Regions from separate parts of the Homo sapiens genome. Here region 1 is linked to region 2. Evidence: promoter capture Hi-C in 16 types of primary human blood cells and fetal thymus (Javierre and others, 2016). All regions are on one chromosome and are shown on one strand. The core of a region is centred on a gene start or on the middle of the fragment in contact, and the rest is flanking DNA. Distances in the headings are between cores, read along the strand shown. Region 1 overlaps SGK1 (serum/glucocorticoid regulated kinase 1). Region 2 holds the start of HBS1L (HBS1 like translational GTPase).

Region 1 (5,876 bases), core at 1,086-3,585, 890 kb after region 2:
TTCCAACGTGGTGCTATCTCTGAAACGAGCGTTAGAGTGCCGCCTTAGACGGAGGCAGGAGTTTCGTTAGAAAGCGGACGCTGTTCTAAAAAAGGTCTCCTGCAGATCTGTCTGGGCTGTGATGACGAATATTATGAAATGTGCCTTTTCTGAAGAGATTGTGTTAGCTCCAAAGCTTTTCCTATCGCAGTGTTTCAGTTCTTTATTTTCCCTTGTGGATATGCTGTGTGAACCGTCGTGTGAGTGTGGTATGCCTGATCACAGATGGATTTTGTTATAAGCATCAATGTGACACTTGCAGGACACTACAACGTGGGACATTGTTTGTTTCTTCCATATTTGGAAGATAAATTTATGTGTAGACTTTTTTGTAAGATACGGTTAATAACTAAAATTTATTGAAATGGTCTTGCAATGACTCGTATTCAGATGCTTAAAGAAAGCATTGCTGCTACAAATATTTCTATTTTTAGAAAGGGTTTTTATGGACCAATGCCCCAGTTGTCAGTCAGAGCCGTTGGTGTTTTTCATTGTTTAAAATGTCACCTGTAAAATGGGCATTATTTATGTTTTTTTTTTTGCATTCCTGATAATTGTATGTATTGTATAAAGAACGTCTGTACATTGGGTTATAACACTAGTATATTTAAACTTACAGGCTTATTTGTAATGTAAACCACCATTTTAATGTACTGTAATTAACATGGTTATAATACGTACAATCCTTCCCTCATCCCATCACACAACTTTTTTTGTGTGTGATAAACTGATTTTGGTTTGCAATAAAACCTTGAAAAATATTTACATATATTGTGTCATGTGTTATTTTGTATATTTTGGTTAAGGGGGTAATCATGGGTTAGTTTAAAATTGAAAACCATGAAAATCCTGCTGTAATTTCCTGCTTAGTGGTTTGCTCCCAACAGCAGTGGTTTCTGACTCCAGGGGAGTATAGGATGGTCTTAAAGCCAACCTACGTTCCAGGCCTTTTTAGCAGCATTTTATGGTGTCTGTCATTCATAAATCCATCCAAGGAAATCCTTTGCAATTTACTCATCTTGCAAGGATTGCTATGAAGTAATGCTTCCTGTATTTATTGCCTGTCCTGTGAAGTTGGACTATTTGTCCTGACATTTGGCTTGTCTTCAGTTACAGGTAATTCTTTCCAGAAATATTTGAAAGCCTACTCTGGGCTCTATTGCGAGTGCTCAGGATATCGTAGTGGACAAAGCAGACAACTTCGCCCTTCCAGAGCCTGATGAAGAAGGCCGACCTAAAGCAGTTAGTTGAGATGGAAATTGAGAAATAGTCTGTGAAGTTTAGGAGAATGCCACACAAGAGGGTGAGAATTTTTTTTTTTTTTTTTTTTTTTTTTGAGACACGGTCTTACTCTGTCGCCCAGGCTGGAGTGCAGTGGTGTGATCTTGGTTCACTGCAGCCTCCGCCTCCTGGGTTCATGTGATCCCCCCATCTCAGCCTCCTGAGTAGCTGGGACTACAGGCATGCACCACCATGCCTGGCTAATTTTTGTATTTTAGTAGAGATGGGATTTCACCATGTGGGCCAGGCTGGTCTCGAATCCCTGGCCTCAAGTGATCTGTCTGCCTCGGCTTCCCTAAGTGCTGGGGAGAATGTTTTAAATAAGTGGATATGTTCCCAAAAAGCTGACCTGGCTGGGACATCTGGTTTCTGAGAGTACCTGGAGTTGACCCAGGTCTAGAGTGAGCTCAGTAAAGGGACCCTGAAGGAGCTCATCCCTAGCTTGGACTGAAGCTTCTTGAGCCAGTGTCTACCTAGCACCCTAAGGGCCCAGCAGGCTCTGGGGCTGTGTGGCAGAGCCCACTCCTAGAGCTCACCCCACTGTGATATTACCTGTGGGAGAAAGCGAGGTGGCACCATCCTTGGAGATCTTGAGTCCAAAGGTTTGGACTTTTTCACTCTTCTAGGTCTTCCACACAAATACTTAACAAATAATCAGGGAATCCCCAAACAGTTGATGTTGCTGCTGCCTTAATTGCAAAAGCACCCTGTAGGCCTGCTGCACCCCCGCTACCCTGACCTTCCAGTTCGCACAGGGATTTCCCCAAGGGAAAGCTGTGAGCTTTTTTCCTCTTATCCTTGCTCTTGGGTCTCACCTCACTTTGCCTCAGTCCCCCTCTCCTACCCCACAAGGTTTCCAAGGGCCAAACAGGTGTTCAGAGATAACCGAGTTCTTCTCCCTCATGATCTAATGAAGGAAGAAGATGAAAACGAGTCGATAGCTTTTTGCTCAAGGTGGGCCACCGGTCATGCTCTGCTGTTGACTTACTGCTCTACAGGCATTAGCTACGTGTTCAATTCCCTACCGGGCCCAGTTGACAAATAAAGAGTCCAAAGCAAGGCCAGGCACGGTGGCTCACGCTTGTAATCCCAGCACTTTGGGAGGCCGAGGCGGGCAGATCACGAGGTCAGGAGATCGAGACCATCCTGGCTAACATGGTGAAACCCCGTCTCTACTAAAAATACAAAAAAATTAGCCGGGCGTGGTGGTGGGCGCCTGTAGTCCCAGCTACTCGGGAGGCTGAGGCAGGAGAATGGCGTGAACCAGGGAGGCGGAGCTTGCAGTGAGCCGAGATCGCACCACTGCACTCCAGCCTGGGCGACAGAGCAAGACTCTGTCTCAAAAAACAAAACAAAAAAAAAGCATGTATTTTCCTATTAAAGATTGATGCCGGCTCTAACATAGAGACTCATTGCATATTCCCCCTCATTCTCATTCTCAATAACAGTTATGAATTCCTCCTCGAACAAAAAGTGCTTAAATCTCATTTTCATCTGAACACAGTTCAGGTGGGCTTAGGAATCTGCAATCTAATTATAGATAACTCAGATGGGCCAGTCACGAGTTACAAAGCTTTTTTTTATGTTTTGAAGGTAGAATTCTGGTTTACTGGATTATAGTCCATCACTTCACATAGAAGATCTGAATTGTGTTTCTCCAGAATTGAAAGGTGCCAGAGGAGACCCAAACATTGTCACCCAGATGGGAGATAAGATCAAGCACAAGTGGGTGGGAAGAGAACAAGGCAAGAACAGGGAAGTCAAGAAAGAACAAGAGATCAATAAACAAATGACAAATATTTACTAAGCACTGTACTGTCAAATAATGTGTGTGCAGAGGTATCTTTTACCTAAGGGAGTGGGGCATATCCCTGCCAGCACATTCCCTGAGCCCCAGCCAGCCTGCCTTTGAGCACGACAATTGATTGGAAAAGGGATAATTGTCTTCTCCATAGCTCTCCAGCTGTAGGTCTACTCAAATATGGGTTTGGGGGAACCAATTCAGCTAAGATTCTCATAAGCTAAAATGTGTCTAAAACCACTGCTACCAAAAAGAATAAGTCAGTCACTGCCCTTACAGAATTTGCCATCCACCTGGGGAGACAGGCACCTACCCTTAACATGTGACAGGCAGTGAACAAGGGGTAAAGGGAACTTCAGACGTCCAGCGGCTCTCTGCGGGGTCGGGTGCCTAGAGCAGGCTTCATAGACGGGAAGCTCTAAGATTCTTCCTAACCAATTCTAGGAACTCTAATAGGATACAGGCCCTGAGGACCGGATTATAATCGTAATAGCTAATTCTACTGAGCTCTTATTATGTGTCAGACAATGTTCTAAGTTTGTTTTTTTTGTTTGTTTGTTTTTGAGACACGATCTCTATTGTCTGGGCTGGAGAAAAGTGGTACAATCATGGCTCACTGCAGCCTCAACCTCCTGGACTCAGGTGATCCTCCCACCTCAGCCAACCAAGTAAACAACGTTTTGTTTCTTAATAAGTCTTTTTCGGAGACGTGGTTTCACCATGATGCCCAGGCTGGTCCTGAGCTCCCTAAGTGCTAGGATTACAGGCATGAGCCACCATACCTGGCTGTTCTAAGTATTCTGTAGTCAAGCTGTTTACTCTTCATAACAATGCTGTGATGTCAAAAGTGAAGAAACTCGTACAGAACGGTCATTAGCTGGTCAGTAAGTGGTGAGATCGAAAGTCAAATCATGTCAATCTGGCCCAAAAGCCTATGCTTGTAGCCATTACTTTATCCGGCCTCAGAGGTGACAGAAGAGTATAAAAGCAAACAGCTGTGTACTTGTTAGTCATCCATTTATTAATTCACCAGACTTTTACAAAGATACCTTCTAGATGTCATGCTAGGCAAAAAGAGGGGGATGGAGAGGGAGAGGGAGAGAGAGGGAAAATTTGTAATTACAGACACTATCAGTGACTGATGAAGATAAGAAGCAGCTGCAAAAATATACATTGCAGTGGGAGTATAACTTGGTGCACCATTTTGGAAAACTGCTTGGCAGTATCTACTAAAGATGAAGATATCTATAACTTGTGGCCCAATCGTTCTCTTCCACAGTATAGACCCCAAAGACTGCACACATATGCAATACAAAATTTGCAATAGTGTTCCCAGTAATACTATTTATGACAGCCCCAAAATGGGAACCATTCAAAATGTCCACCTATAGGAAAATGAATAAAGAATTTAGTGTGGTTTCATATACTGAAATACTACCCAATGAAAATGAGTGAATAATTGCTATATACAACAAGGAATAGATCTCATAAACAAAACCCAGACTGTATGATTTGATTTATATAAAATGTAAAAGCAGGCAAACAGCATGAATTGATTTGGAAGTTAAGATGTGATCACCTTTGGGGAGGAAGGCAGAGCTCATAGTTGAGAGGGTGCATAAGGAAGACATCCTACCAGGTGCTGTTAATTTCTTGATCTGATCTTGAGCTTGATCTTGATTTCATCAAGCTATACACTTATGATACATGCATTTTTCTCTGTATGTGTTATATAACAAAAATGTGCATTATAAATATGTGGTATGATGAAAACAGGTGTTTGCGTACATAGGAGTGACACCTTACTCAACTTGGGGGGCAGGAAATGGGAGTACATTTTTAGGTAGTTTAGGAAAAAGGTGCTTAGGGAGATCTGGAGAATCCAGGTAGGCTGTCTTGGAGAACTGGATCTTGAAAATGAGGCAGAAAGGCCATTCCACATTCAGGCTTGTAGTGGGGGCCGGACTTGCATAAGGATAATGAATGGGACAGTGGCAATAGAAAGGGACCAGACAGACCTAGGGCAGAATCTCAGCTCTATTGACCAGCTTTCTTTCTTTTCTTTGAGACGGGATTTTTCAGTAGAGGCAGGGTTTCGCCATATTGGCCAGGCTGGTCTCAAACTCCTGACCTCAGGTGATCCACCCGCCTCAGCCTCCCAAAGTGCTGAGATTACAGGCATGAACTACCGTGCCCGGCTGAAAAAATTTTAAGTAGGGAGATGGACCATGTCTTTCATGTTCTTAATAATCCCACGGGGGAGACGTTTAGCTTTCATCAGATAGCAAAGGAAGCATTTGAAGGTTTTCCATGAGGAAAGTGAAGTGATTCAGAGTGTTTTACTGGCTATCACTAAGAGGTGTGAGAGCGAGAAAGCTTTGAAATTAATATAAAAGCCCCTTAGGAGACTTCTGACAGTCATCCCAGTGGTGGTGGTGAGTAAAGGACAGAGGAGATGTTTCCACGTTCCCACGTCAATGAGACTTAGTGAGTTACGATGGTGGAAGACGGATGAATGCAAAGCAAAGCACATTTCATGTAATTTACTTCTTTAATGTACTTGACAACTTATTGAAGCAGTTGTCACAGCTGCAATAATAGTTTCTAGGACAAAGGCCGCCCACCAGTTTCTTCAACATCCCCAGTATATAACGAATCAGCCAGTCAATAATCAATCAATTTAATTGGCAAGGCAAGACGTTATGCCCTGTAGTCAATCTCTAACCTATCCTGTTAAGTAATTTCTCTCCTCATC
Region 2 (6,019 bases), core at 3,387-5,886:
ATAGTTATGGAGTAGAAGCGTCACTATAATTTATTTACCAAACCTCATATGAGTATTTAAGTAGCTAACAAGGACAGTGTTATTTCAGGAACAACAGAAAATTTTAAGTGTAAATGGATGAGTAATTGTTTAGTTTCAAATACAGGATGAAGAACAGACTATACTCTGAGAAATACTGATATATTGTTAAGTAAATTCTAACTCAGATGTATCACAGTGCTTAGATCTTTAAAACAGGACACTATATGCTGGGCATGGTGGCTCATGCTTGTAATCCCAGCACTTTGGGAGGTGGAGGTGGGAGGATGGCTTGAGCTCAGGAGTTTGAGACCAGCCTGGGGAACATAGTGAGAACTTGTCAATACAAATAAAATAAAATAAATAAATAAAACAACACTATGAGGCATAAAGGAAACATCTGACATATATGTATATATTAAAGACAGGAATGAAAATTCCATTTAATAAATTTTTGCATTTTTTAATTTGGTTTTTAAATTGAGGTATAACTTATTACTGAAAGGTGCATAAATTTTAAATGTACAGTAAAATAAAATTGTATACATGTATAAAACCTTATAATCCTAACCCAGATCAATATATAGAACATCTCCAGCACCTCTGAAAGCTCCCTTTAATTCTCTCTTTCCTGACTCCATTAATATCTACTTCAAAAGTAACTATCATTTTGACTTTTTTTAATTTTATTTTTTTTACACAGAGTTTTGCTCTGTCGCCCAGGCTGGAGTGCAGTGGCGTGATCTCGGCTCACTGAGACCTCCACCTCCCGGGTTCAAGCAATTCTCCCGCCTCAGCCTCCCGAGTAGCTGGGATTGCAGGTGCGTGCCACCACACCCGGCTAGTTTTTTGTATTTTTAATAGAGATGGGGTTTCACCATGTTGACCAGGCTGGTGTCAAACTCCTGACCTTGTGCTCCGCCCATCTTGGCCTCCCAAAGTGCTGGGATTTACATGCATGAGCCACCGCGCCCGGCCGTAAGCTTAACATCTTTAGACCTCATGAAGTGTTGGCAATGATGTTGAGAAAATAGAGAAAATGGAACTACATTGCTGGTGGAAACATAAAACTTTACAACTGTTTTTGGAAAACAGTTTGACAGTTTCTTTAAAAAGCTGAAGATAACCTATCATATCATTCTACTCCTAGGTATTTACCCAGGAAAAATTAGTTTATGTTTATACGAAGATTCGTACACAGATATTCACAGAAGCCTTATTTACAGTCGTCAAAATGGAAAACAAACCAAATATCTCTCAATGGGTGAATGGAAAAACAAATTGTGGTATATCCACACAGCGGAATCCTCCTCTAATAAAAAGGAATGAACTGTTGATTCAAGCAACTACACAGGTGAATCTCAAAATAATTATGCTGAGTGAATTAAGACAGATAAAAAAGAACACATACTATATGATTTCACCTGTATAAAATTTTAAAAAATGCAAACAACTCATAGTGACAGAAAGACGATCAGTTATTTTGAGGGGCCATGGTGAGGAGGCCTTGACGGGCAGGAAGGATTCCGGGATATTCTGGAATTTTTATTCTGGATATAAAGGTACTTCAGGAAAATTTTGAAAGTCTGGATATGTTCATTATCTTGATGGGGTTGATGGCTTCACTGGTGTATACATACGTCAAAATGTATCAAAATTACACATTATGTGCAGTTTATTGTCAATGATATCTCAATAAAGTTGTTAACATTTTTTCAGTAATGTAGTTATCCTTTCATTCATAATTTTTTTCACAAATCAATATAAAATGATTTGTATTGTTTTTTATGACATTAACAATTCCATAGCAAGAGAAATGTCATTTTATTTCTCTTCTTTTACTCATTAATTCATTCAGCAAACATTTAAAGTGCCAGACATTAGGGTGCCGGAGAAACAAAGATAAAGCTTTGAAATTAGTAGGGGTAGAGAAGTGGCATTTACTGAGTACCCATTCTGCAACACCTACTGTTTTTACATATATCATTTACTTTTCACAAAACAGAAGACATACATTTTCATATATTCGATTTTACAGATGAAGACATTAAATCTGAAGTGGTTAACAGCAACAAAACTGGGACTGAAATCCAGGTTCGTGGTACTCCGAAGTCATAGTACTTTCCATCAAAACACAATACCAGAGTTTTATTCATTTATTTTTTGAGTCGGAGTTTTGCCCTTGTTGTCCAGGCTGGAGTGCAGTGGCACGATCTCAGCTCACTGCAACTCCTGCCTCCTGGGTTCAAGCGATTCTCCTGCCTCAGCCTCCCGAGTAGCTGGGATTACAGTCACCCACCACCACGCACAGCTAATTTTTTTTTATTTTTAGTGGAAGATGGGGGTTTCACCATGGTGGCCAGGCTGGTCTGGAACTCTTGACCTCAGGTGATCCACCCGCCTCAGCGTCCCAAAGTGCTGGGATTACAGGCGTGAGCCACGGTGCCCTGCCCACACCTTACAGAGTCCTGAGGGGAGTGGAACAATCCTAACTTTTTCTGAAGAAGTCAGTGAAGGCTTTGCCATTGAGGCTCTACTGTTTGAGATGCAGTAGATGCTGTGCAATATTTAGAGTTTTAAAGGAGTGCGTTATTGACGACCTAAGGGCAAATTATATATTATCTGACAGAAGTAACGTTTTCTTATTCATTGTTCCTGTAGTACTTTGCTTATGTGGTCTATAACTCATTCACTTCATACCTCAGTGAGTTGTAGTTAAGCTTGTAATTGACAATTACAGTGGAGTGGAAGCTGCCATTTGTATTTTAATAACACAATTTTTTTGGGGGGGTGCAGAGTCTCACTCTGTCTCCAGGCTGGAGTGCAGTGGCACAATCTTAGCTCACTGCAACCTCTGCCTCCCGGGTTCAAGCGATTCTCCTGCCTCAGCCTCCCGAGTAGCTAGGACTATAGGCACGCGCCACCATGCCTAGCTAATTTTTGTATTTTTAGTAGACAGGGAGTTTCACCATGTTGGCCAGAATGGTCTTGATCTCTTGACCTCATGATCCGCCTGCTTCAGCCTCCCAAAGTGTTGGGATCACAGGAGTCAGCCACCGCGCCCGGCCAATAACACAATATTTTTAAGCACCTACTATGATCTGTGATAAATCCTCTTATACGGATACATTATTCACAGCTCGCGAGTTAGTGTCTCTATCTCCTTTTTACAAAGAAACAGGCTGCAAAATAAAAATTACCTAAGGGTGTAAAATAATAAAAACACTTAAGCCATGTAACATTAGCAACTATCTCTATTTTTCTGTAAACTTTTATTTTGGAGCCACATTAAACAACTATTTTTGTAGTCAAACACATTCAAATGCATGAATAAATTACGTTCCAAGCCACTTACAAATATAAACTAAATTTGGATTACTCTTATTTCTTTCTATTGTGCATAGCAAAAAGCTGAGGAAGCTTTTAATTATCTCTAGAACTCAACATTTGCCTTTGATGTGAAGTATCATCATTTCAAAAACACAAGCTAAAACTGAAGTGGTGTTCAGTATAATGAGGTTGGTTTCTTATATAGCATTATTAACTTTATGTTCTGAGAAATGAGGACATTTAATAGCAGGTTATAGATTCATGCATCAACAACATTCAGCATTACCACCTAAGGCCAGTGCTATGTCTAAAAAGCTATATTTAATACTCGCAATGTTACACACAATTATGTCTTCAATGAATGTTCAGTGAATCCTTCTTTATGATGCTGATAAATATCGTCTATATAGCTAAAATCGTTTACATAGCTAAGGGCAAATCGCTGTTTACTAGGGATAGTAATGCCGAACGGAGTGAATACATGAAGTCGTAAATTATATGAATGCAGGGTGACCTAATATAGCCAGGGTCTCAATTTAATAATATATACCCGTTTAAAAATAGCCTTATTTCCTTCTCTAAAGCTTGGACTCTTTTTTTTTTTGAGATAAGGTCTCACTCACTTTGTCGCCCGGGCTGGAATGGAGAGGCCCGATCTCAGCTCACTGCAGCCTCGACCGCCTGGGCTCAGGGGATCCTCCCACCTCAGCCTCTTCAGTAGCTGGGACTACAGGTCTGCACCACAGGGCCGGCTAGTGTTTGTATTTTTTGTAGAGACGGAGCCTCGCTATGTTGCTCAGGCTGGTCTCGAACACCTGAGTTCAAGCGATCCGCCCTCCTAGGCTTCCCAAAGTGCTGGGATTACAGGAAGGAGCCACCGCACCGGCCTGGGCTAAATCTGATTCCAAGTTTACACAAGTTTGTTGAATGCCCACTGTGTGCTTAATGAAAGATCAAAGTTTGATAAAACAAGGTCCCTGCTCTTACTGAGCGCATAGCTTTCTCAGATTATCAGGAACCAAATTTGGAAAATAATCCAGAACGCTGGCGTAGGTAGCTCAAGGTTCCCCGCTTGCAACATTTAGTCCAAACCAGTCAATTCTAGGCGGCGGATTTCCCCATCCCCCTCCGTCGCCCAACCTTTGGGTGGGGCCACTCCCAAACGCTCCCTCCCCTCGTCCCGCCATGCACAGCAGTGCGCATGCGCCCTCAGGGAGGCGGACAGTGACCCTGAGGCATTGCCGTCGCGCGGTGCACAGCTAAGACGTCGCGCTTGCGCAGGCGCTCGGCGCAGAGGCCTGCGGGAAGCCAAGATGGCGCATAGGGGTTCTCCAGGCTGCAGTTGGCGCCTTATCAGTATCTAAGCGGAGTGTTTTGGAAGGAGTTAAGGGGCTGTGGCAAACGCCCTCTCCGCCGTCATGGCCCGGCATCGGAATGTTCGAGGCTATAACTACGATGAAGGTAGGTGGCAGGGTCATGCCGGGACGTTCTTTTCCCGGCTACAGCTGGGATCCTAGCCCGTTGGCATCCACTTCAATCTGTGAGTTTCTCGTCAGTGTTGCCCTGTCGGGATTGGGAGAGCCCCAGTTGGGGAATATAACAGGCCTTCTAGTGCTTTCAAATGCCGTCGTTTTTAAGTCATGATTTCTGCCCTCTGGGGTTGATTTTATTTGGGGAGGGGGAGGTGCTGCATAGCGTCATATGGGTAGGATATTGGTGAGGTTGAGATCCGGTGATATTTAGGCACGTAAGCATTATCACCTCTTCCATTGTTTCCTCCCATGTTGGGCACTAACGTGCCTGCTTCTAGCTCCTCTCTCCCAGATCCCCTTTGAGAAATGTCCATGAAACGTTGCTTATTTGTAAAACACAGATTGACTTAATACATTCAACGGACGTGTACCTGTGTTAGATTTACATGGTAAACCTTTTGTGTATGTCCATACATACCTAGTGCAGAATCAGTTTGCGCTAATTTATTTTTCAACGAATTTCAAAGTGGAAACTTAGGAGACGGTAGAAAAGACACATGTTAAAAAGGCCCAAAGAATGAGTCGATCAGATGGATCTTGAAGTTTATACTTAGTTCTTGGCTGGTAATGCTTGATATAAATGTATTTTGAAATGTAAATAAACGGCAGTACTAGAGGAAAGAGTGTATAGGAAAGGACTTTTTGATATTAAAAAATGAAATAAAAATGTCTGTATGAATGTTCTGTAGGAGTTAACAGGAGTTAGAATTATTTTTAGGAGGAGCACATCCCTCTTCATGCAGTAGATAACTATAGGCATCACCAAGCATCACATAAACTAAAAATATAAACAAAAATGAACTAATGCAGGAGAAGAATAAAGAACTATGCTTTACGAAGTGCAGAACATGTAGTGCTTAATATGTTGGTGATTGTCATTGGCACCCCAGTAGATTATTATAGAACATCAGTATGCTTTAACTAGAGTGAGGGCAGCTAACACCCTGTTCTCCATTTGGAACCTGTGACCTCAGTCCGTCTAGAACATGTGAATTTTCTGGTGGTTACTTTAGAATGGAGGCCCTTTTAAATAAATATTGCAGTGGATGGTATTGCATGTGGACCATTGTCACCTAAGAAATGACTTTAGATTGAGAGAGATTTTTGCAAATATAAAGTACATGAATAGGCCTATTTAT

The links. Contacts are between HindIII fragments. The CHiCAGO score rates a contact against its expected background, and 5 or more counts as called.
Region 1: a contact is called between a fragment that was not itself captured here and the fragment with the promoter of HBS1L in region 2, in 1 of 17 cell types (fetal thymus). The highest score is 6.4, in fetal thymus.

Annotation. Positions count from the first base shown.
Region 1 is chr6:134,164,180-134,170,055 of GRCh38, reverse strand. It overlaps SGK1 (serum/glucocorticoid regulated kinase 1), which reads left to right. Exons shown (of 14, transcript NM_001143676.3): 14 at 1-800. Among named protein-coding and RNA genes, the nearest start is that of SLC2A12, 110 kb to the right of the region's middle. The HindIII fragment of the contact is 1,120 bases long and covers 1,776-2,895 here.
Region 2 is chr6:135,053,439-135,059,457 of GRCh38, reverse strand. It overlaps HBS1L (HBS1 like translational GTPase), which reads left to right and starts at 4,636. Exons shown (of 18, transcript NM_006620.4): 1 at 4,636-4,809. The coding sequence starts at 4,767. It overlaps LOC124901405 (a long non-coding RNA gene), which reads right to left and starts at 4,565. Exons shown (of 2, transcript XR_007059775.1): 1 at 3,972-4,565. LOC124901406 (a long non-coding RNA gene) reads left to right here and starts at 722. Exons shown (of 2, transcript XR_007059776.1): 1 at 722-839; 2 at 1,169-1,740. RefSeq lists an enhancer at 4,428-4,477. The HindIII fragment of the contact is 2,164 bases long and covers 3,935-6,019 here.